Regions from separate parts of the Homo sapiens genome. Here all the other regions are linked to region 2. Evidence: promoter capture Hi-C in human tissues and cell types (Jung and others, 2019). All regions are on one chromosome and are shown on one strand. Each heading gives the region's core, a stretch centred on a gene start or on the middle of the fragment in contact. The rest is flanking DNA. Distances are from core to core; before and after follow the strand shown.

The links. The method cuts DNA at HindIII sites, captures the fragments that hold promoters and counts their contacts. A contact is called where the count stands out against the background at its distance.
Region 1: a contact is called between the fragment with the promoter of BNIPL here and a fragment that was not itself captured in region 2, in 3 of the 25 tissues and cell types used here (lymphoblastoid cells, mesendoderm cells and spleen).
Region 3: a contact is called between the fragment with the promoter of SNX27 here and a fragment that was not itself captured in region 2, in 2 of the 25 tissues and cell types used here (heart right ventricle and hippocampus).
Region 4: the fragment with the promoter of LINGO4 here is called in contact with a fragment that was not itself captured in region 2 in 1 of the 25 tissues and cell types used here (lymphoblastoid cells).
Region 5: a contact is called between the fragment with the promoter of MLLT11 here and a fragment that was not itself captured in region 2, in 4 of the 25 tissues and cell types used here (H1 embryonic stem cells, adrenal gland, lymphoblastoid cells and 1 more).

What each region holds. Positions count from the first base shown.
Region 1 is chr1:151,033,691-151,038,092 of GRCh38, reverse strand. It overlaps BNIPL (BCL2 interacting protein like), which reads right to left and starts at 1,507. Exons shown (of 10, transcript NM_138278.4): 1 at 1,327-1,507; 2 at 431-526. The coding sequence starts at 1,367. It overlaps PRUNE1 (prune exopolyphosphatase 1), which reads right to left. Exons shown (of 8, transcript NM_021222.3): 8 at 2,380-4,287. The coding sequence ends at 3,859. The HindIII fragment of the contact is 8,096 bases long and covers 632-4,402 here.
Region 2 is chr1:151,317,874-151,321,965 of GRCh38, reverse strand. All of the region lies in intron 1 of PI4KB (phosphatidylinositol 4-kinase beta), which reads left to right. Among named protein-coding and RNA genes, the nearest start is that of PI4KB, 7.5 kb to the left of the region's middle. The HindIII fragment of the contact is 7,586 bases long and covers 1-4,092 here.
Region 3 is chr1:151,610,433-151,614,242 of GRCh38, reverse strand. It overlaps SNX27 (sorting nexin 27), which reads right to left and starts at 2,193. Exons shown (of 12, transcript NM_001330723.2): 1 at 1,731-2,193. The coding sequence starts at 2,041. LOC124904420 (a long non-coding RNA gene) reads left to right here and starts at 875. Exons shown (of 2, transcript XR_007066622.1): 1 at 875-1,052; 2 at 1,844-3,726. RefSeq lists a silencer at 1,838-2,277 and an enhancer at 2,318-2,417. The HindIII fragment of the contact is 9,196 bases long and covers 1-3,810 here.
Region 4 is chr1:151,803,875-151,808,007 of GRCh38, reverse strand. It overlaps LINGO4 (leucine rich repeat and Ig domain containing 4), which reads left to right and starts at 2,589. Exons shown (of 2, transcript NM_001004432.4): 1 at 2,589-2,778. It overlaps RORC (RAR related orphan receptor C), which reads left to right. Exons shown (of 11, transcript NM_005060.4): 11 at 375-1,937. The coding sequence ends at 536. The HindIII fragment of the contact is 7,603 bases long and covers 1-4,133 here.
Region 5 is chr1:151,058,268-151,062,461 of GRCh38, reverse strand. It overlaps MLLT11 (MLLT11 transcription factor 7 cofactor), which reads right to left and starts at 2,065. Exons shown (of 2, transcript NM_006818.4): 1 at 1,909-2,065. It overlaps CDC42SE1 (CDC42 small effector 1), which reads left to right and starts at 2,840. Exons shown (of 5, transcript NM_020239.4): 1 at 2,840-2,983. RefSeq lists an enhancer at 1,928-2,519. The HindIII fragment of the contact is 8,370 bases long and covers 493-4,194 here.

The DNA of each region.
Region 1 (4,402 bases), core at 258-2,757, 280 kb after region 2:
TCTGTTTTCTTTTTCCCATTTTTTTCCTTCAAGTCCTAATTCACCATCCCTGTGTCCATTTGCTTTTTTTTTTTTTTTTTTTTTTTTTTTTTGAGACAGAGTTTCACTCTTGTTGCCCAAGCTCGGGTGTAATGGCACAATCTCAGCTCACTACAACCTCTGCCTCCCAGGTTCAAGTGATTCTCCTGCCTCAGCCTCCCGAGTAGCTGGGATTACAGGCATGTGCCACCACACCTGGCTAATTTTGTATTTTTAGTAGAGACGGGATTTCACCGTGTTGGTCAGGCTGGTCTCAAACTCCTGACCTCAGGTGATCCACCCGCCTCGGCCACCCAAAGTGCTGGGATTACAGCCATGAGCCGCCGCGCCATCCCCTCCGTCCATTCGTGACCACCCCTCCCTTCTCCCAGCCACCCTCACACGTCCTCACCTAGGGAATTCTTCATCCTGCCATTCCTCCTTCAGCTCCAACTCCCCATGTCTCAGGGCTGCTCCTAGTTCTGGTGCTTCTGCAATCTCCCTGACCCTAAGACAGCCCCCAAGAAGAAAAGATCAAGGGAACTGAATAGTAGGTAAGAATAATTGAAATGAAGAACAGTAATTGAGATACAGAGCAGAGGATAGGCCTTCAAAAGGACTCAGATCTCTTGCCTCCTATACAGATGCTTCTCTTACCTTCACCACTTGCTAGAAGCAGATTACCTGCTGTTAAGTTTGGGAGCAGACGAAAGATGGAATGTAAAGTTAATCATATTTACCTCTGTAGCAGTTGCTCCACCTACAAAGTTGGGGTGAGAGATGTCCCACATTACAAGTGGCTGGAACCCAGCTAGACCCACCCAGCTATCATTGAGCAAAGTCGGGAAGACGGTACCTAGTTAGGCCTGCCTTTCCTCCACCGAGCTGGGGAGTGGCTAAGGGAAAACATGGCATAAGTGGAGGGGTGGAGGAAGAAGGTAAGGAGAAAGATTTGCCAGAACGAGAACCTGGACCTAAACTCGGTTCTGGTTCAGCTTTCCTGATGGCCATTCTGGAGGGTGAGGGTTAGAAAATAAAAGAACACAGGCAGATTTATCAGGTACAACATATTACAGAAACTTCCTTTATTTTTAAACCAGGGAATTATCCTGGAATCCTGTTCCCCAGTTCCATACCATACTGACATTTCCTACCTAAAACCACCCTCATCTCTTCTCTGCAAACTCTCTTACAGTCTTGTCTCCTTGAGGAACCCGAGATTTGACCCAGTAAGAGCTGGGTGGTGGGGAAGTCTCTCCGGACTGTTTATTCACTGTTACCAATCAAGTGAGCCAAGATCTTACTTACCCAACATCTGTCTTTTTTCCTGCCTCTTGTATAGTTCCCATCTTCACAAGTCTTCCTGCCTCCTTCTTTAAACACCTAGGAGTTGTTGGGGAGCTGGTTGTCCCAGCCCCCAACACTTCCTTACCTCTTTTCTGTCTCAGCTGTTGTAGCTCTTGCCTCCAAGGAGGGAGGTGTGGAAGGGAGGTAACCTCATCTTCAAAACAGGTTTTGCCACTCCTCTCCCCAGGAGCAGGTTTGCCCAAAAGAAAAACCCTGCCTCCTGTGAGGGGGCGGGTTTTGGGGAGGAGAGTGCATTTTCTAGTGGGGGCCAGTCTCGGTTGAGTCTAGGAAGGCAATTTGTTCTCCTTTCCAGACTCCATATATCCCTCTCAAAGTTGCTCTTTACACAAATAAGCAAAAAAACCAGTAGAAACCGTTGTGTTTCTGGCCGGGCGTGGTGGCTCACACCTGTAATCCCAACACTTTGGGAGGCCAAGGCAGGCGGATCACCTGAGGTCGGGAGTTTGAGACCAGCCTGACCAATGTGGAGAAACCCCATCTCTACTAAAAATCCAAAAAAAAAAAAAAAAAAAAAAAAAAAAAAAAATTATCTGGGCGTGGTGACACATGCCTATAATCCCAGCTACTTGGGAGGCTGAGGCAGGAGAATCGCTTGAACCTGGGAGGCAGAGGTTGTAGTGGGCTGAGATTGTGCCATTGCACTCCAGCCAGGGCAAAAAGAGCAAAACTCCATCTCAAAAAAAAAAAAAAAAAGAAAAAGAAACCATTGTGTGTGTTTCTAGGACTGTTATCTTGGATCTACTTTTCAAGCATAAGGAAAACTGGGGAAACGGAAGTATGTTATAAGGAGGTTTCTGGGAGAATAAACAAGTTGAACGGGAGGCTGAGGATGAGGGGAGACAGAAGCCTGTTGCTCCTTATTCCCAAAAAGAGTCAACAGAAAGAAGACATTAAGTATAGTAGGAAGAAGGGGGATCAATTTTGAGGAGACTGAAACAACTATCACAGAGAAAGGCCTGAATACACTTGTAAAAAAAGACAGTAAGACCCCCAAACAGGAAAAAATTATTTAATAGTATAACAAAATGCAAAATAAAGTACCCAAGTTACAAAACATAAATTCCTTTGGTTCATGATCACACCACTATTTTTACCTTCCACATAGCTACAGACATCACACCCTCAAAGTGAAGTCAAACTGTCCCCCTCATACTGAAGATGTCATGCCAAAACCATCACATACCCCACTGTTCAGTGAAACTGTTGGCAACTTACATGGAACAGAGCTGTGGGGTAGGAAAAAGGGGAAAGGGTTGCGTTAAAAAAAATGGGGAGACTCTACACATGCAGAACAAGTTAGTGGGAGGGAGTGCTCTGCTGGGTCAACACGCCATGAACCACACCCCTATTCGTGCTACATGAGGCTGAGTCCTTGCTACAACCACACAGAAATACAGACAATCAAGTGAACCTGAGCACCCCCAGGGATAACAGAAGAAAAATACAGAGAAGCAGAGGAGAGAAAGAATGGCAGCAAGAGGCAGATCACAGAATACCAGGGAACACCTAGTCCAAACCCTGTTTTACAGATGGGGAAAGTGAGACCTGGAGTAGTGAAGTGTCTTGCCAAAATACATAGTTTATGGGAGCATTAGAACTCCATGCTTCCTTTTAATGTGAGCAAGGAAAAAAAGAGATTGACAAGAAATTGATAGGCCTGCTAAGGCAGGAGACAGACCCAGGCCTCTCATTCCAGTTCTGTTGTCTTTTTGGAAGAGTGCCTATGAGGTCATTAAGGCCTTTCTGGGTGTTTTCTTGATTCTCAAGAGTCAGGGTTCTGGGTGGCTCTGGGACAGAGGGATCCAAAGAAACAGCCAGGCCACCTGATCAGGACAGAAGACAATGGCCTCTAATCTGTTCCCAAACTAGATCTGAAACAGTCACAATAAGCTAAGAATAGAAATTCAGCCATCTCTGAATCAAACACCATCACCTAAATGGTGGCAGAAAGAAAAGTCACCGAGCTGATAATCTGCTGTAGGCTGAAAACTGGAATAAATTTCCAAAGCGCACTCTCTTTTCTCTCTAGCTTGAGGCAGGTATTCAATAAATACTTGAATGAACAAGTGAATAAATGAATACATGGAGACCATCGATGAATGTTCAGTTCCATGACAGATACTGGTTCTGTTCAAGATCCATGCCGAGGACACTTTTGGGGTCTAAATTCTTTTTGTCCCACTGTGCTGGGACTGCAGATATGTCACATCGTGCCCCTGGCAAATAAAATAGAGAGAGGTGCAGATTTAAATAATAAAATGTGTCTGATTGGTAGAGATTAGGGGGAAAAGGTGGAAAACCATTCTTAAAGCAGCTGCTTTCTTTCACTTTTTTTCTCCTCTCAGTTTTATGAGAACAGTATACCAGATCCTGGAGCAATGAAGACAGAATTGCTGAATCTCCAAACATCTCAAAACATGCATTTGAAGTGAGTCAGGTAGCCTCACCCACTACCTCCTCGCCTCTCAACAGTCACTTCTTGGACAGGGAGGCTGTGGTAGACTGTGACAGTGAGATCTGACTGCACTTCTCGAAGACGGCCTCAGCAGAGAGTTTAGGCAGCCCCTGATCTAGAGGGCACTCATCCACCAAGCTGTTCATGGGCGTCGGGGGCAGCGGAGGGTCCTCCTCATCTTGACTCAGGCCAGAAATCAGGGAGTTACTTGCCCTGTCCAATTCCTTGTCCACTTGCTCCCTGGACACATCTGCTGTCTCAGGCTGTCCTGAAGGGATCTTCATGGAGTCAAAATATGCTGACAGGGCTTCCTGGAGCAGGGGCAGAAGTTTCTTTCGAGAGACCTGGGTGTTGCCTTGAAGATAGGCATGGAGGTTAGGGTGGGTACTTGAGGCAGGGGTCAGCTTCAGGGGTGGAGAGTGGGAGCGTTCCAGGACTTCACAGATCTAAAGAGGAGACAATAACAGGGAAATGATACACAACTTGCTGTAGCAAAGTGCTGGGCTTCTAAGTGAGAGGCTTCCTCTATAGAAGAGGAAGCTTTTAAAAAGTAAGTCGGCC
Region 2 (4,092 bases), core at 435-2,934:
AGGACTTTTTCCTTCACCTTTTCTTTTGCTTTCCAGTCCTTTCATTTTCTTTAGAACAGTTACCCTCAAAGGCTTTTTTTTTTTTTTTTTTTTAAGACAGAGTCTCACTCTGTCGCCCAGGCTGGAGTGCAGTGGTGTGATCTCGGCTCACTGCAAGCTCCGCCTCCTGGGTTCATGCTATTCTCCTGCCTCAGCCTCCCAAGTGGCTGGGACTACAGGTGCCCACCACCATGCCCGGCTAATTTTTTGTATTTTTAGTAGAGACGGGGTTTCACTGTGTTAGCCAGGATGGTCTCCATCTCCTGACCTCGTGATCTGCCCTCCTCAGCCTCCCAAAGTGCTGGGATTACAGGCGTGAGCCACCATGCCCTGCCCACAAAGGCATATTTTCTTGGCATTCAAAACTAAATGAAGCAAGCTGGGCATGGTGGCGGGTGTCTGTAATCCCAGCTACTTGGGAGGCTGAGGCAGGAGAATCGCTTGAACCTGGGAGGCGGAGGTTGCGGTGAGCCAACATTGCGCCACTGCACTCCACTCCAGCCAGGGCAACAGAGCAAGACTCTGTCTCAAAAAAATAAATAAAATAAAAATAATAGTAATAATAAATAGCTAAAGCAATTTAACCCTATTCCCTACAACACCTTCTTCTCCATATGACTTGCTTCAGATGCAGGCAGTGCCTGGGTTCCTGAGAGGCCAGGGAAGAGACCCAGCTCCAGTTTGGTGGTTTCTAGTGGTAGAGCTGCTTATATAGGAGAGGAGTCTGTTTTTTCCTGCACCTCTCAACACTGTCTAGCTCCCTGAGGAGTAAAAGCTGCCGGGAGGGAGAGTCTGTTCAGTAGCAAAATCCTCTGAATACTGTGATGTGATTCTTAGCTGAGCCCTGGGAGTTTTTCTTTTGTCTGTGAGATAAAAGAGGTGATAGTATCCTTATTTGCCTTCCTGGTGCCAGTAATAATCCCAATCGTAGTTAATTGGGGCAGGCATCTGCTAAATTTTCTAGTGAGGTCTGAGACACTATTATGTGGGAGAATGTCTGAACTGTATTTCCCTTGAAAGTTTTGAAAAGTGTACTTCTAGGAGCTTTCAGTGACTTAAAAGTCTGTGGACTAGAGGGAGAGGAAAGGATGTACCAAACATAGAGACTGAGAAAAAGAAGTTGATTGTTTAAGATGATTGAGGCTATCACATGAGTTTCTAAGCAGACCTAAAAGGTAGTGGTCCCCGTTGAATCGGTGACCCTCTGATGAGAGTGCCCTACGAAGGTGTGGCAGGGAATGATTAAAGCTTCCTTCTTATTATTCCTGTGCAACTCACAGTTGCGAGTAGGGACAGATCCACATAGGCAGCCATGCTGGTTCTACTGCTCAGAGGGCACTACCTAATTTTGGGAGAGAGCATAGTGAAAGAGTTGCCACCTTCTTACCAATACCAAGCTCAATCTGCATCAGGGATATTAAATTCAGGAATGAACTTGCTTGGCAGAGTTGGCAGAAAGAAACAGAAATAGCCTTTTTTGGTGATCTCTGAGAACAGAAGAGTTCCCCATCCGTCTTTCTGCAAAACTTTAGTGGTGACTGCTGGGAGGCAGGGAGCTGGACTATATGATATTGGGCAGTTAAAAGTAACCTGGGGCCGGGCGCGGCAGCTCACACCTGTAATCCCAGCACTTTGGGAGGCCGAGGTGGGCAGATCACGAGGTCAGGAAATCGAGACCATCCTGGCTAACATGGTGAAACCCTGCCTCTACTAAAAATACAAAAAATTAGCCGGGCGTGGTGGCGGGCATCTGTAGTCCCAACTACTTGTGAGCCTGAGGCAGGAGAATGGCATGAACCCGGGAAGCGGAGCTTGCAGTGAGCCAAGATTGCACCACTGCACTCCAGCCTGGGCGACAGAGCGAGACTCCGTCTCAAAAAGAAAAAAAAAGTAACCTTAACATTTCAGACGTACAAGAACAGACACTGGAAGGGTGGTGGTGGAAAACAGCCTCCCAGAGGGACTAAAGAATCTCTAGGCCTCCTTATTCCACCTACCCAAAGTATATGCATCCAGGGTCACCGGGGTTGAAGGTGATGTCACTAATATTTTGAAATTACCTGTATTCCAACTCTACAAAATCTTTCCTCTTGCTCATGCTCTTGAGTGTGTCTTAGACTCACTCTATTAGCATTTTTGTGAAGAGGCCTCTGAGTCTGAGTCCTTTGTTAGCTATAGTCAGATTCTGGAGCCAGGTTGATCTGATGAAATTTCCCCAGTTCTGCACTGATTCCAGATTTGGTGAGGCTCTGAAGGATTGTTCTTGGAGAGCAGTGGCTTTGGTCAGCAGTGTTCTTTCATTGAACTTCCTTCCAACAGTCCCTCCAGAGGAGGTGTTCTTTGTTTTGTGACTCCTGTTCCTCCCTGTTCTTTGGAAGGCCTAGATCTATGAGTCCTAGTCTGATTTCTTTTTGCCTTTTCAATTGTCCCTCCAGTTGTTAGAATGTGTGTATGACAGTGGGGGGAGTGGTATTGGGGCAGAAAAGGCTGTCATAAGTATTTCTGGAAGATTCTCAAACAATTGGAACTCTTTGCTTCCCTTATAAAATAATATAAGTTTTATGTTACACACACACTGGTTAGTAACCTTTTAGGTGATGAGGATTCAACTAGCATTTCTTTTTTTTTTTTTTGAGACAGAGTCTCGCTGGTCTTGAACTGCTGACCTCAAAGTGATCCACCTGCCTCAGCCACCCAGTGCACTGGGATTACAGGCATGAGTCACTGTGCCCGGCCTCAACTAGCATATATTGAGTACTACTATGTATCAAAGACTGTGCTAGATTCTTTCATACACGTGATGGTATTTGTTCCACATAGCAACAATGAGAAGGAAGTGTTTTTTCCCAATTTGCAGTTGAGGATAAATGGCTTGCATAAGTTGCACATTTCTGAAAGGCTGAATGAGGATTTTCAACCCCAGCCTATTTGCCTTCAAGTCCAGAGCTCTTTCCATTATATGTTAGCAGCCACGGCACTGGAGAAAGAGGGTGTGATGTCATGATGTCAGACAACCAGAGAAACGGCACAGCTTCAGCAGGGTTGATGATGGTTGTTTTAGAGCTGCCTTCTTCTAAGTGAAGCCTGGCATGGTATTTACTGGCCTTTATTTTCTGGGAACTTCGAGTTTAAAAGGGAAGGTAAAAAAATACCTGTAACCAGAAAAATATATCAAGACTTTAATTTTATTTATTTATTTATTTATTTATTTATTTGAGACAGAGTTTCGCTCTGTTGCCCAGGCTGGAGTGCAGCGGTGCGATCTCGGCTCACCACAACCTCTGCCTCCCGGGTTCAAGCGATTCTCCTGCCTCAGCCTCCCAAGTAGCTGGGATTACAGGCATGCGCCACCACGCCCAGCTAATTTTGTATTTTTAGTAGAGACGAGGTTTCTCCATGTTGGTCAGGCTGGTCTCGAACTCCTGACCTCAGGTAATCCGCCTGCCTCAGCCTCCCAAAGTGCTGGGATTACAGGCGTGAGCCACCGCGCCCGGCCTTTTTTTTTTTTTTTGAGACAGAGTCTCACTCTGTCTCCAGGCTGGAGTGCAATGGCGTAATCTCGGCTCACTGCAACCTCCACCTCCCAGGTTCAAGCAATTCTCCGGCCTCAGCCTCCTGAGTAGCTGGGATTACAGGCGCCTGCCACCACGCCTGGCTAATTTTTGTATTTTTAGTAGAGACGGGGTTTCACCATGTTGGCCAGGATGGTCTCGATCTCTTGACCTCGTGATCTGCCCACCTCGGCCTCCCAAAGTGCTGGGATTACAGGCGTGAGCCACTGCGCCTAGCCAAGACTTTAATATTAAATAAAGATGGCTGGGCAAGGTGGTTCACACCTGTAATCCTAGTGCTTTGGGAGGCTGAGGCAGGAGAATTGCTTGAGGCCAGGCGTTCAAAGCTAGCCTGGGCAACACAGCAAGACGCCATCTGCACAAAAAAATTTTTTTTTAATTAGCTGAGCATGATGGCACACACCTAAAGTCCTAGCTACTCGGGAGGCTGAGGCAGGAGGATGCCTTGAGCCTAGGAGTTCAAGGTTACAGTGAGCTATGA
Region 3 (3,810 bases), core at 944-3,443, 290 kb before region 2:
CAGAGGAAAGGTATACTGTCTCCAAACACTGGCCTAGGTGAGCAACTATTTCTTTTTTTTTTTTTCAATCAACTCTCCCAGGTTAAAACCAACCATTTCTTGAGGTGGAAGAGGTGAGGAAACAGAATGAGTGGACACCATGGAGTTAAGAATGTCAAGGATAAGGGTAGATGGCACGAGATGAGTAAGAAGGAATGGATTTCTCTATAAGGCAGATTTTCAAAAAACTATCCCTTTTGCAAACCTACTGTTTTACAAGAGGCAACAGAAGGTTGCGGAAATTACAATTAAAATTTATAAAAAATGAGAACGATTTCAAGTGGGCAAATCGAAATATGGAGGGAGAGAGTAAAAGTGTAAAAAAGGAATGCACAACATAGATTCAGTAAGCAGAAACACAGCACTGAAGACTGCTGAGGAGAACGGAGACAACGCGAGCACACACCACCTGCAAGTCAACCGGCAATCACTATCCGAATTTCAATACGAAGTACAAAAAGGCAAATGTAACACCTAGATTAGGGTAATGGAGGCGGTGTGCACAGAGATTGCAAGACAAGGCAGCATCCCGCAAGAGCATGGAGGGATGTGGTGGGGGAGGCGTATGAAGGGGGAGGGACTGCAGCAGGGGAGAGAGGGTGGGCTGCAGCAGCAGAAGGCGCCTTAAAAAACAGAAGAAAGGAAAAGCAGCCTAGGGGAGGGAAAGACTAGGACAAAGTCAAGTGTGGGATCACAGGAGGATAGAGTAGAAGAGGCAGCAGAGACGGGCATGCCCTAAAAAAGCAAAGCGGTCAAAGACCCAAAAAGGGCTTGAAGTAGTTTTGAAGGAGGAGGAGTTACAAGGGGTCTACCATAAACCTGACTAGGAGGAGGCATGAGTATAGAGCAGGAGTGAAGGCAGGAGGCCAGGGAAGGGATGCTCTCAGAGGGGTGTGCTGATGGAGACGCTAGATTCCAAATTAGGGTGTGATACGGGGCCAACCGAGAAGAGAAACTACGGTGTCAAATCCCACGCCCCCCACCCCAAAGGCATGCAAGGGTCAGAAAGCAAGGTAAACTCTTGGAGTAGAAATACAAAAAGGAGGGGAGGAAAGGGGCACACGGTGGGATGGAAAAATTTAGGGGCAGCGTAACCATGAGGAGAGGGTAACTAAGGAAAGAAAAAGGAGACGAGCGGGGAGGGATGGTGTTTCCGGAGGAAAAGTAGGAGCAGACCAGAGGTCCTGCCTACTTGGTCTGGAGGGCAGAAGGGGCAGTCCACGGGGGCGGAGGGGAGTGGTGGAGAACGAAACTGCGATGCTGAAGATGAGAACTTGGGGGGGACACGGTACTGGCTGGATCAGAAAACGAAACGCCGTCAGTAAGGAGCAGATGAGGTTCCTTCTGAGCAAGACGAGGGGGAGTGAGGAGCAGAATGCAGCACGCCAAACGGGAAGGCAAAGGGGCGGAGAAGAGCCCAGAGTAATCGGGGCACAGGGAGGAGCACTGGGGGCGCAAGGGCATCAGCTGGAGACGACGGGGTGGGAGACCGGCGTCGCAGAAGCCCCGGGGCGGGTGGTGGGAGGGCAGCCCACAAGGAGGGGCCCGGCTGCGGAGGCCTGAGGGGCGGGGGTCCGGAGGCCGGCTCGGAGCTCGGGGGAGGTGCGGCCTGGGGGTGACAAGGGTAGCGAGGAGTGCAGGGGCAGGAGGGGCGCGGGGAGGATGGGGCGGCGGGTAGCCCCGATACTCACACCTCCAGGATGCGGTCCCCCTTGCGCACCCCGGCCCGATCGGCCGCCCCCCCGGGCAGCACGGCGCTCACATGCTGCAGCGGCGCGTACAGCTCCCCGTTGATGCTCCGCAGTTGCCCGCCCTCGCTCACTTGGCCCCGCACGTTGAAGCCGTAGCCGGACTCGGACTTGACGATGCGCACGACCCGCGGGCCGCCGCCTCCCCCGCCGCCGTTCCCGGCGCAGTGGAGCCCAGACCCCCCGCCGCCGCCGCCACCTCCGTTCCTGTGAGGGGCTGAGGGATGAATCCCTTCCCCGTCCTCGTCCGCCATCTTGCGAGCAGGCGAGCCGTACCCCCGCCCCCTACGCCTCCAAGGCCTCCCGGCGCGTGCTCGCCCTGCCTGGCAGCCGGACGACCCCCGACGCGCGCGCCCGATCCGCCGGCCGCGGGACCGACTCGGCCACCGAGCTGCTGGCGCGGGGTGAAGAGGAGGCAGGGGGCGGGCGAAAAGCGGACAATCGGGCACCGTGGGGCCTCCTGGGAGATGTAGTTTATGGGTGGCGGGGGCGGGGAGCGGTCTGGGCCTGGGCCTGAGCCGAGGTTATAAGACGCAGTTCGGAAGCAAGGCCTGCCGGGAGTTGTAGTTTATCTTTCATGCTGGGTTAGGAGTTTGATCTGCTGGGTGGGGAGAGTATAACCCAGCACCCAGCGTGGTAAAATGATTCAGTTCTTGATGCGGACCAAGTTTTTCGCCCCCCCCCCTTTCATTTCATAACCTCTAAAAAACAATAATGTTAGAATAACTTAACGTTTGTGATTCAACACAGTCTTAAATTATATCAACTCATTTTTTGGCACAGTAACTTATATGTTGACCAGGGCCCAACAACCTGTGAGGCAACCGGATCACGATTAGCTTCCCTATTTTACGTTATTAGGAAACAACCTTAGAGTGCTCAAAGTCATCCAGCTACTAAGTATCAGGAACTAAGGCCCAGTTATTGTGCAACTTTCTTGTCCTGTATTGCAACTACAGTCATGTGCCACATAAGGACATTTTGGTCTACAATGGACTGCAAACACGAGGGAGGCCCCCTAAGATGATAATGGAGCTGAAAAATGTCTATCACCTAGTGGCACAGTAGCCACCATAAGGTCATAGCACAAGCATTACTCACATGTTTGGAGTGATGCTGGTGTTAACAAACCTGCACTGCCAGTCATGTGAAAGTATAGCACATATGATTATGTACAGTACATAATACTTGATAATGGTAAGAACTATGTTACTAGTTTATGAATTCACTGTAGTTTTTATCACTATTTTAGAGTGTACTCCTTCTACTTTTTTTTTTAAGTTAACTGTAAAGCAGCCTCAGGCAGGTCCTTCAGAAGGTATTCTAGGTATTCTAAGTATTGTGATTTTTTTCCACGTATTCCAAGTATTGTGTTTTTTTGTTTTGTTTTGTTTTTTTGTTTTTTTTTTTTTTAAGATGGAGTTTCGCTCTTATCGCCCAGGCTGGAATGCAATGGCACGATATCGGCTCACCGCAACCTCTGCCTCCCAGGTTCAAGTGATTCTCCTGCCTCAGCCTCCCAAATCCCTTGCGATTAAACGCATGCGCCACCATGCCTGGCTAATTTTTTGGTATTTTTAGTAGAGACAGGGTTTCACCATGTTGGCCAAGCTGGTCTCGAACTCCTGACCTCAGGTGATCCAACCACCTCAGCCTCCCAAAGTGCTGGGATTACAGGTGTGAGCCACTGTGCCTGGCCCCAGTTATTGTTACCATCAGATGACAGCTCTGTGCATGTTATTACCCATGAAGACCTTCCAGTGAGACAAGAGATGGAGGTGGAAGACAGTGAAATTGATGATCCAGATCTGGTGTAGGCATAGGCTATGTTTGTGTTTAAGTCTTAGTTTTTAACCAAAAAAAAAAGTTTAAAACATAAAATTAAAAATTGCCTTAAATAGAAAAAAAGCTTATGGAATAAAGATATAAAGAAAGAAAATATTTTGTACATCTGTACAATGTGTTTGTGTTTTAAGCTAACTGTTATTACAAAAGAGTCCCCCCAAATTTTTAAAGGCTGGGT
Region 4 (4,133 bases), core at 1,340-3,839, 490 kb before region 2:
ATGGGAAGAGGGGAACAACATGCACAAAGGCAGAGGCATGTGACAGCATACAACAAGAGTCACAGACAATCACTCTTATAAAAGCAGGAAGTGCACATTAGAGTCTTTGACAAGGTTCATTCTAGAAGTATTGGGAACATAAATTGAGGGCTTCACCCAGAAAACATTCACCTGTGCCCCACCCACTCTCACTTCCCTCCAGTGTCCTGAACACACACGTACTTCTACCAGTGGGATTTGGCTGGTGCCAAAGTGCCAAGTACATAAGGGGAAGGCAAGGAGGGTTTGTCCTAGCCCAGGAAGAATGAGCGGACTTCTTTGCTCTGAGGAGAGCTGAAGTATTGACCCTCCCTTCCCCATTAACCCATATCCAGCTGCCACCCAAGGGGAAGCTTCGGAGCCTGTGTAGCCAGCATGTGGAAAGGCTGCAGATCTTCCAGCACCTCCACCCCATCGTGGTCCAAGCCGCTTTCCCTCCACTCTACAAGGAGCTCTTCAGCACTGAAACCGAGTCACCTGTGGGGCTGTCCAAGTGACCTGGAAGAGGGACTCCTTGCCTCTCCCTATGGCCTGCTGGCCCACCTCCCTGGACCCCGTTCCACCCTCACCCTTTTCCTTTCCCATGAACCCTGGAGGGTGGTCCCCACCAGCTCTTTGGAAGTGAGCAGATGCTGCGGCTGGCTTTCTGTCAGCAGGCCGGCCTGGCAGTGGGACAATCGCCAGAGGGTGGGGCTGGCAGAACACCATCTCCAGCCTCAGCTTTGACCTGTCTCATTTCCCATATTCCTTCACACCCAGCTTCTGGAAGGCATGGGGTGGCTGGGATTTAAGGACTTCTGGGGGACCAAGACATCCTCAAGAAAACAGGGGCATCCAGGGCTCCCTGGATGAATAGAATGCAATTCATTCAGAAGCTCAGAAGCTAAGAATAAGCCTTTGAAATACCTCATTGCATTTCCCTTTGGGCTTCGGCTTGGGGAGATGGATCAAGCTCAGAGACTGGCAGTGAGAGCCCAGAAGGACCTGTATAAAATGAATCTGGAGCTTTACATTTTCTGCCTCTGCCTTCCTCCCAGCTCAGCAAGGAAGTATTTGGGCACCCTACCCTTTACCTGGGGTCTAACCAAAAATGGATGGGATGAGGATGAGAGGCTGGAGATAATTGTTTTATGGGATTTGGGTGTGGGACTAGGGTACAATGAAGGCCAAGAGCATCTCAGACATAGAGTTAAAACTCAAACCTCTTATGTGCACTTTAAAGATAGACTTTAGGGGCTGGCACAAATCTGATCAGAGACACATATCCATACACAGGTGAAACACATACAGACTCAACAGCAATCATGCAGTTCCAGAGACACATGAACCTGACACAATCTCTCTTATCCTTGAGGCCACAGCTTGGAGGAGCCTAGAGGCCTCAGGGGAAAGTCCCAATCCTGAGGGACCCTCCCAAACATTTCCATGGTGCTCCAGTCCACTGATCTTGGGTCTGGGGTGATCCAAATACCACCCCAGCTCCAGCTGTCTTCTACCACTAGAAGACCCAAGAGAAGCAGAAGTCGCTCGCACTGGTCAGTCGGAAGGCAAGATCAGATCCTGGAGGACTTTCCTGGCCTGCCCGCCAGCCCTGCTCTTGTTGTGGAGAAGGAAGCAGATGTGATCACATCACCCCGTCATTGGGCACCGCTGACTCCAGCATGGAGGACACCAGGGAGCAGGGCCTGGGCCTGTTTCCCCAGCTGTGATCTTGCCCAGAACCTCTCTTGGCTTCATAAACAGCTGTGAACCCTCCCCTGAGGGATTAACAGCAATGATGGGCAGTCGTGGAGTTGGGGGGGTTGGGGGTGGGATTGTGTCCTCTAAGGGGACGGGTTCATCTGAGTAAACATAAACCCCAACTTGTGCCATTCTTTATAAAATGATTTTAAAGGCAAGAAGTGTGTGTGTCAGAGGGTGGGGGAGATTCTTAAATTAGATTACCTGCATGCCTGCTCTCCAGTCTCATTCCTGGGTCAAGACTCAGGTTTCCAGCTCAGCAATCCATCAGCATTATACAGATCCAACCCACCCTCACCCGACCCCTGCAGTTTCTCCCCAGGTGGAGCAGTCCCTCAGTGAGGACTGTGAACGAATCTTCAGGAACCCCCACTGTAGGAGCCTCAAACTGAGCCCCACGGGAGATGCTCTAGACTGAGAACTTCCCATAAATGATACCCACGGGGAACGTTTAGATTTAGAGGTTGCACAGAATTGCTCCACATCTGGGAGACCAAAAGACAGTCCTCTGGAAGGTGGCTGGCCCAAGCTCCCCAGTGGGGGAATCAGGATGTCAGAGAGATCCTCTAGAACCTGCTGTTCTTGCTATTGCATGACCCCTCCCTGGCACCAGAGCCTCCCTCCTGGCTCCCTCCCCTGTCACTTGCCAGCCTGTAGTGGTGCTTGCTGCAGCCCTCCCTGGTTGCTTTATTTATTTATTTTGCACCAACAGGGTTGCTGCAGACTCATTCTTGCCTGGTTTAAAAAGAGAGAGAGAGAGAGAGGAAAAAAAAAAAGGAGAAATGCTTTCTGGCTCTTTTCTCCACCTCAGTCTTGGCAGCAGCGGCCGCAGCAGCAACAGCAGCAGCAGCAGCGGCAGGCAGCAGCCGGGCAGCCAGGCAGCGGGGGTTGAGGCACACAGGGAAGGTGCAGGGGCCTGAGGTGCAGCTCGAATGGGACAGGGCCCCCAGCGCTGGACAGATGCAGTGCCAAACTTGATGCCACCTTCCAGCTTCTCCGGTAAGTGCCCCCACTCTCTGTCCCAAAGATGCAGCCGCCCTTTTCCATAACATTCTCCGAGACAGGCCAGACTAGGGGCCAGACAGGCCCCTCAAGGCAAGAGGGTTTGGGCCCCCACACTGCTAACAATTAATCCTGGCCCCATGGGACTTTGAGGGGGAAACTCAAATATCCCAAGTACCCCTGGGTGGAAGGGCTCCAAGGAGACCTCCCTTCCATCTCCCCAGTGCTTCCCCTTCCTCTGGAAGGGTTTTTCTCCACAATCGGTGTGGATCTTCCAGAAATCTTTCCCCCAGGAACCCTCTCCCCACACAGTTCCCATTTGTCAGTCAGGTGTGCTTTAAAGAGGATACAGGATACCCAGGTTCAAAAGTGTCTCTGGACTGCCACATAAAGACAAGAAAAAGGCTCCCTACCCTTGAGGGGTGATGCCTTCAAGGGTCATGTCTTGGTGATGTCCCCACCCCACTGAAGGGACAAAAAAGTGGTTCTGACATCTCGCTTCCTGCAAAGTGGCCGGAAGCCGGTCCTGCAGCCATGGAGGTTGGCAAGGGAAATTTGTGATTAAATTAGCCACCTTAGAAATAAAATAGGTTGCTCCAGCTCCCTCAGCCCCTGGCCCAGCGGACTCAGGGGAAACTCACAGGAGCAGGAAGGAAGAAAGCTGGGTTACATGCTTCACTGCACTTTTGCTGAATGCAGAGCGAGGATGGGCAGGAACTGCAGCAGTAGTGATGAAGAGCTAGCTGTCAGGTGGACTTCCCAGAACAAGCCTAGGGAGAACAAGGGAGGCTGGGCCATCTTTCCCGGGAGAGCTCTGGGCATGCCACAGAGACCTGTTAGGTCAGTTTGGGGCGAGAAGAGTCTGCTCTGCAGTCTTTGCCCCACGTTATTCTTTTTCATCCCCAAGCCTCACACCAGTTTTCTGCATCCCTCTGCTCTTTTGGCCTCTTTCTTTAGTTTCCCAACTAGGACAATCCTCTCAAGTGGCTGTAGGATAGCCACTAGAATGATCCTTCTAGGAGGTGGAGAGTGGGAAGGAAAGGGGAAGAAATGACCATCTCTTAAACTGCCTCTCCTAAGTTCCACATGAGAAAAAACAGGGCATGTAGTAGAAAGCTGACCCTGTAGAGCCCAGAGAGCCTGAAGCCCACAAGCCCAAAGGTGATCAGGATTGCCGCTCAGCAGAGACTCAGACGCGCTGTATCCCAGAGAGCATCCATGGGCTTTTGCTCCTATCTCTGTAGCCATCCCTTGCCAATTCCAGTACTTCCTCTGCCTTGGGGTCCCTGTTGACATCTAACAGGATGAGTCAGGGGCCCTCATCACCTAGAGGGCCCCTTCTCCTCTGTCAC
Region 5 (4,194 bases), core at 816-3,315, 260 kb after region 2:
GAACTGGGGAGGTGGAGGTTGCAGTGAGCCAAGATTGCACCACTGCACTCCAGCCTGGGCAACAGAGCGAGACTCCATCTTAAAAAAAAAAAAAAAATAGAATCATGGGGGGAAAAAATCATAGAATTTTAAAACTAGAAGACATCTTAGAAATTAATGACTTGGGAAGACTTCCAGCCAGTTTGTATAGAATCCAGATCTCATAATTCCCAATCTGATCCCTTTTTGTGTTGTACATGGATAGTTGCCAACAGCTTTATATAACCCTATACCAGTATTCCCAAAACTTAAAAGAATTTTTAGTTGCTGAAGAATAGATTTTCCGTGGTTTAGGTGATTGTTCCTGTAATTGTGATCTGAATGGGGAAAAGCAAAGGGCAGTAGAGCAAGCTAGAATCTGAGAAAAAAAAAAAAGCTCTTCGACAAACTGACTCCTTTTCTTACAACCAGAGTATGTATAAAAAACTGCTCAAACAGTCCCTGAGTGTTTGGTAGAGCTATCTTGCAATTTAAAAAGCTAAAGCAAATTTTATGAAATATTAACTCAAAAGGCCTAAAATCTCTATGTCATTGACCCAGAGACATGTACACAGGGTACCAAATACATTCAAGAAAGACATGCATGCAAACATACGTGGCATTAAAATCAAGTCAAGAACATAAAGTAATACTACACAGAAAATTGAAGTTAAAATGCTATTCACTAATGTAAGTAGTAATGACATTTTTGATTTAATATAGTATGGATTTAATTATCAAATACTCCAAATTTCGCAAAAGATCCTTTTTTGGCTAGCTTCCCCTTCCCCTCCACAAATGCTCTCCAGCCCTACTTCATCTATCTTTACATCTTTCATTATCTTAAATGGTATCATTTACTTAAAGGGTTTTGACAGTGCCTTGTACCACAATATATGTTCAATAAATGCTTCCCACTATCCTTCACTTTAAATTATCCGGGTATTTTAGGCAAAGGCAATATCTAATTATCACTCTGTTCTTAGAGATACATGATTAGCAAATGTATAGATTAGAAAGATACACTCTCGGAGCCACACAGACACGCCCAAATATCCTTTGTCCAGACCCTTTGTGGGCATCCAAGGCCTACTCAACAGGGCCTTGCTGTGTCATGCTGCCACCATGGGGAAGGGGGAAGGACAAGGTGGTGGTGGTGGTAGAGGGGAGCAGAACCTCTCTGACATCTCATAATGTGTGCCTCAGTCAGAGCTTGGATTTTCCTACTAGCATTCCTCCACCAATTCCACTGAGCTGCAAATCATTCTTTTCCAGAATCTGTCCCCATACCTAGCTCCTGTGGGCTATACTGATTTCACTATGGAATCAGGCAGTTCTCCAACACAGAGGCCCCCACCTTTCCTACCCTAGGCTGCCTCTTTCTTTGGAGCAAAGATTCGAGGTGGAATGAAAGAGATTATCCAAAGAAAGGTCAGGATTACACCCAACATTATCCCATATAACCCCCTCCCAAACTCCCTCCTACAGAGAAACATAGAACACTACAGAAAAAAATTGCAAGTATAGGGAAGTAGAGGACAGAGAGATACAGTAGGACTAAAAATTAAACAGCTGGTAAAACAAATTATGGTTTGAAAAGGAAGATAAGTAGACTGAAGATATTAAATACACAGGACAATAAATTACAGAAAAGGATACTTGAAATGAGGTAGGTGCTGAGAAATAACTACAAGTAAATTGTTAGAGATTAATGGTCTGTATAAGGTAACAAGGCATGGATGCTGTGAAGAAATAACTACCCATTGTTCATAGCGCCCCCTTCTCTCCTCTTCAGCTGTCCCCCACCTCATGTGGGGTCTTTCAATCTAACCATAAGCAGCCGCTCTTCTATCTTTGCAGCCCCCTGCCCCCTCCCTCAGTTTGGTTTACCTGTTATCAATCAATTACTGGCGTGTTCCAAAGATGGAGGGAGTGCCTCGGGAGCTCCGGGGTCTGCGCCGGGCTGGAGAAATACAAAGCTGTTGGGGCTTTGACGGCTTTGTCTTCTCACTCCTTTTCCCTCTTCAGTGACTGAGTCTGTCAGTTCACTCTCCCCCTGCAATGCAGCCCCTCCTAAGAAGGGCGGAAGGATTCCCCGCCCCCTCCTGCCTGACTCGGCTAATTCAAATGATAGGTTCCAGAACACTTGAGGGAAGGAGAGACGATGAAAGCATCTCCCTAGGCTCATTGGTCTGCGCTATTATTCCCGATCTCTTCCAGCACCCCCGTGCTGACTGGGGGCCCAATGAATGAGCAGTTAATTGCCCTCTAATTTTAGGTCCTCTAATTTATGGATTTGAAATCTTAACTCTAGACTACAATGGAAAGGAGGAGTATTCCTTTCTTCCACAATTTAAGGACTTTAGGTTACAAAGTATTTTTAAGAATCAGAGTATTTTTCCACCCCTTCTCCCAATCCCTGCTCCTCCAGACTCGCCTCTCTACCCTCACAATGGGTAAATAAACCTAGTCCTATTCCATTTTGGGTAGAGCACAATAAATTTGGGGTGGGGGGCGTGCTTCTGCGAATCTCTGAACTTGGTTAGGTCTGGGGGTTTGGGGGGCTCCGCTTCGTTTTGCCCCGAAATGCCTGGCGAGTAAAGGGAACGTGAGATTCCGGGGGCCCCAGCTTGGGTGCCAGGGCCTCATCTAGGTGTCCGCATTCTCCAGTTCTCCCCGCAGGGGCGGCGGCCTTGAGGGGCTGCAGAGGCACCCTCCCACGTCCCGCGCAGTGCAGTGCCTCCGCAGTCCAGAGGGGAGCAGTGCGCCGGGCTCCGAGCCGGACGGGTTTCGTAATCGCGTCGCCGCCGCTTCCGCCCTCAGCCGGCCCCACCTCTGCCGGCTCGTACTCGGCTCCCCCACCTCGCCGCAGAGCTAGCCCGGGAAGCCCACACTGGCGGCCACGGAGCAGAGTCCCTCACCCCCACCAGCTGTAGCTGAACGTCTGGATGGTGGAGAAGAGCAGGTGAGGCCGTGCAGTTGGTCCCCTGGCCCGCCTGCCGCGCCGGCCGGGCCAGGCGGAGACACACCGGATGCGGGGTGTGGGGGAGGCGGGTGTCCTGGGCTGCAGAGATGCTGGGGTGGTGGGAAAGGGGTGCGCGCCCGGGGTGGCCGTAGTCATCCACGCTCCTGGGGTGCGCAGGCTGAGGCCGCTGAAGAGTAGAAGGAAAAGAAGGAACTGGAATGTTGGGGGAGGTGGGAGGGAGAGGGTCCGAAAGATTCCCAGAGAGGTCCCAGTCCGGTTAAGGGTTGAGAACAGCAGAGAACTTCTAGGTAGAGTTGTGTAGTGGGGGGAGACAGATACGGAATCTGTGTGATTGAATATATTTGGGGAGGGGAGGCTTAGGGCCTAGCCCTCTTTCCTCTTAAGCCCCCAGAAGACCTTTCCTGGGGAAGGGAAGGTTGGTGTTGGGCCTGTCACTTGGCTGAAATATGGAGTCCACACCGCTTCTCCAGAGTCCCTCAGCAGCCCTCCATGTCTCGGGGTCTCCACACAGGGACCAGCTGCTGCCCCGGGCTTCTAGCCAGAATTGCCCATGCCATTCTCTCGATTCTTTCTTTCTCTCCAGCTGCTTCATGTGAGGGCTTGTCAGGCCGCGGGTTGGAGGCCTTAGGGCCAGAGGCGGTGGGACCGGGAGAACCGGTTTGGGGCCCGAACAGGACCAGAGAACTAGCCTGTACATCCTTCCTCCCTGGCACCTCTTTCCCATCCCTTCTGCTCACCTCCCAACAGCTCTGAGACCCTCAAGTCCTAGTATGATCTTGGTGGGGGCGGGGGGTGGCTTTCCCGGTTCCATATTTCACTCTTGCCATTTGGAACTCAGAGAGGTCGAGTTCTGAGCACCACTTGGCTCTCAGGACGTGGCCTTATGAGGTCTAATCCTCATCCCTCCTGTTGTTTTCTCAGCCCCTTCCCTATTCACTGTGGGGTTGGATTCGGGTGGCTCTTCCGCCTGGGCTGACCAGCTCAGGACTTCATTTTTCCTCAACCCACTCTCTTCTGGCTGCTTTAAAGAAGAGTGGCCGCCAGTGGCTCTTACTTCCTTTTCTGGCTTTGTTCCCATCCCCCACTGCCCTGCGCTACCATCACATTCACCCTGACCTGTCTTCTTCACACTCTGACCCCACCCTCAAGTTTCAGAGACCCTAATGTCCTAGGGAATGGAATTTCCTGGT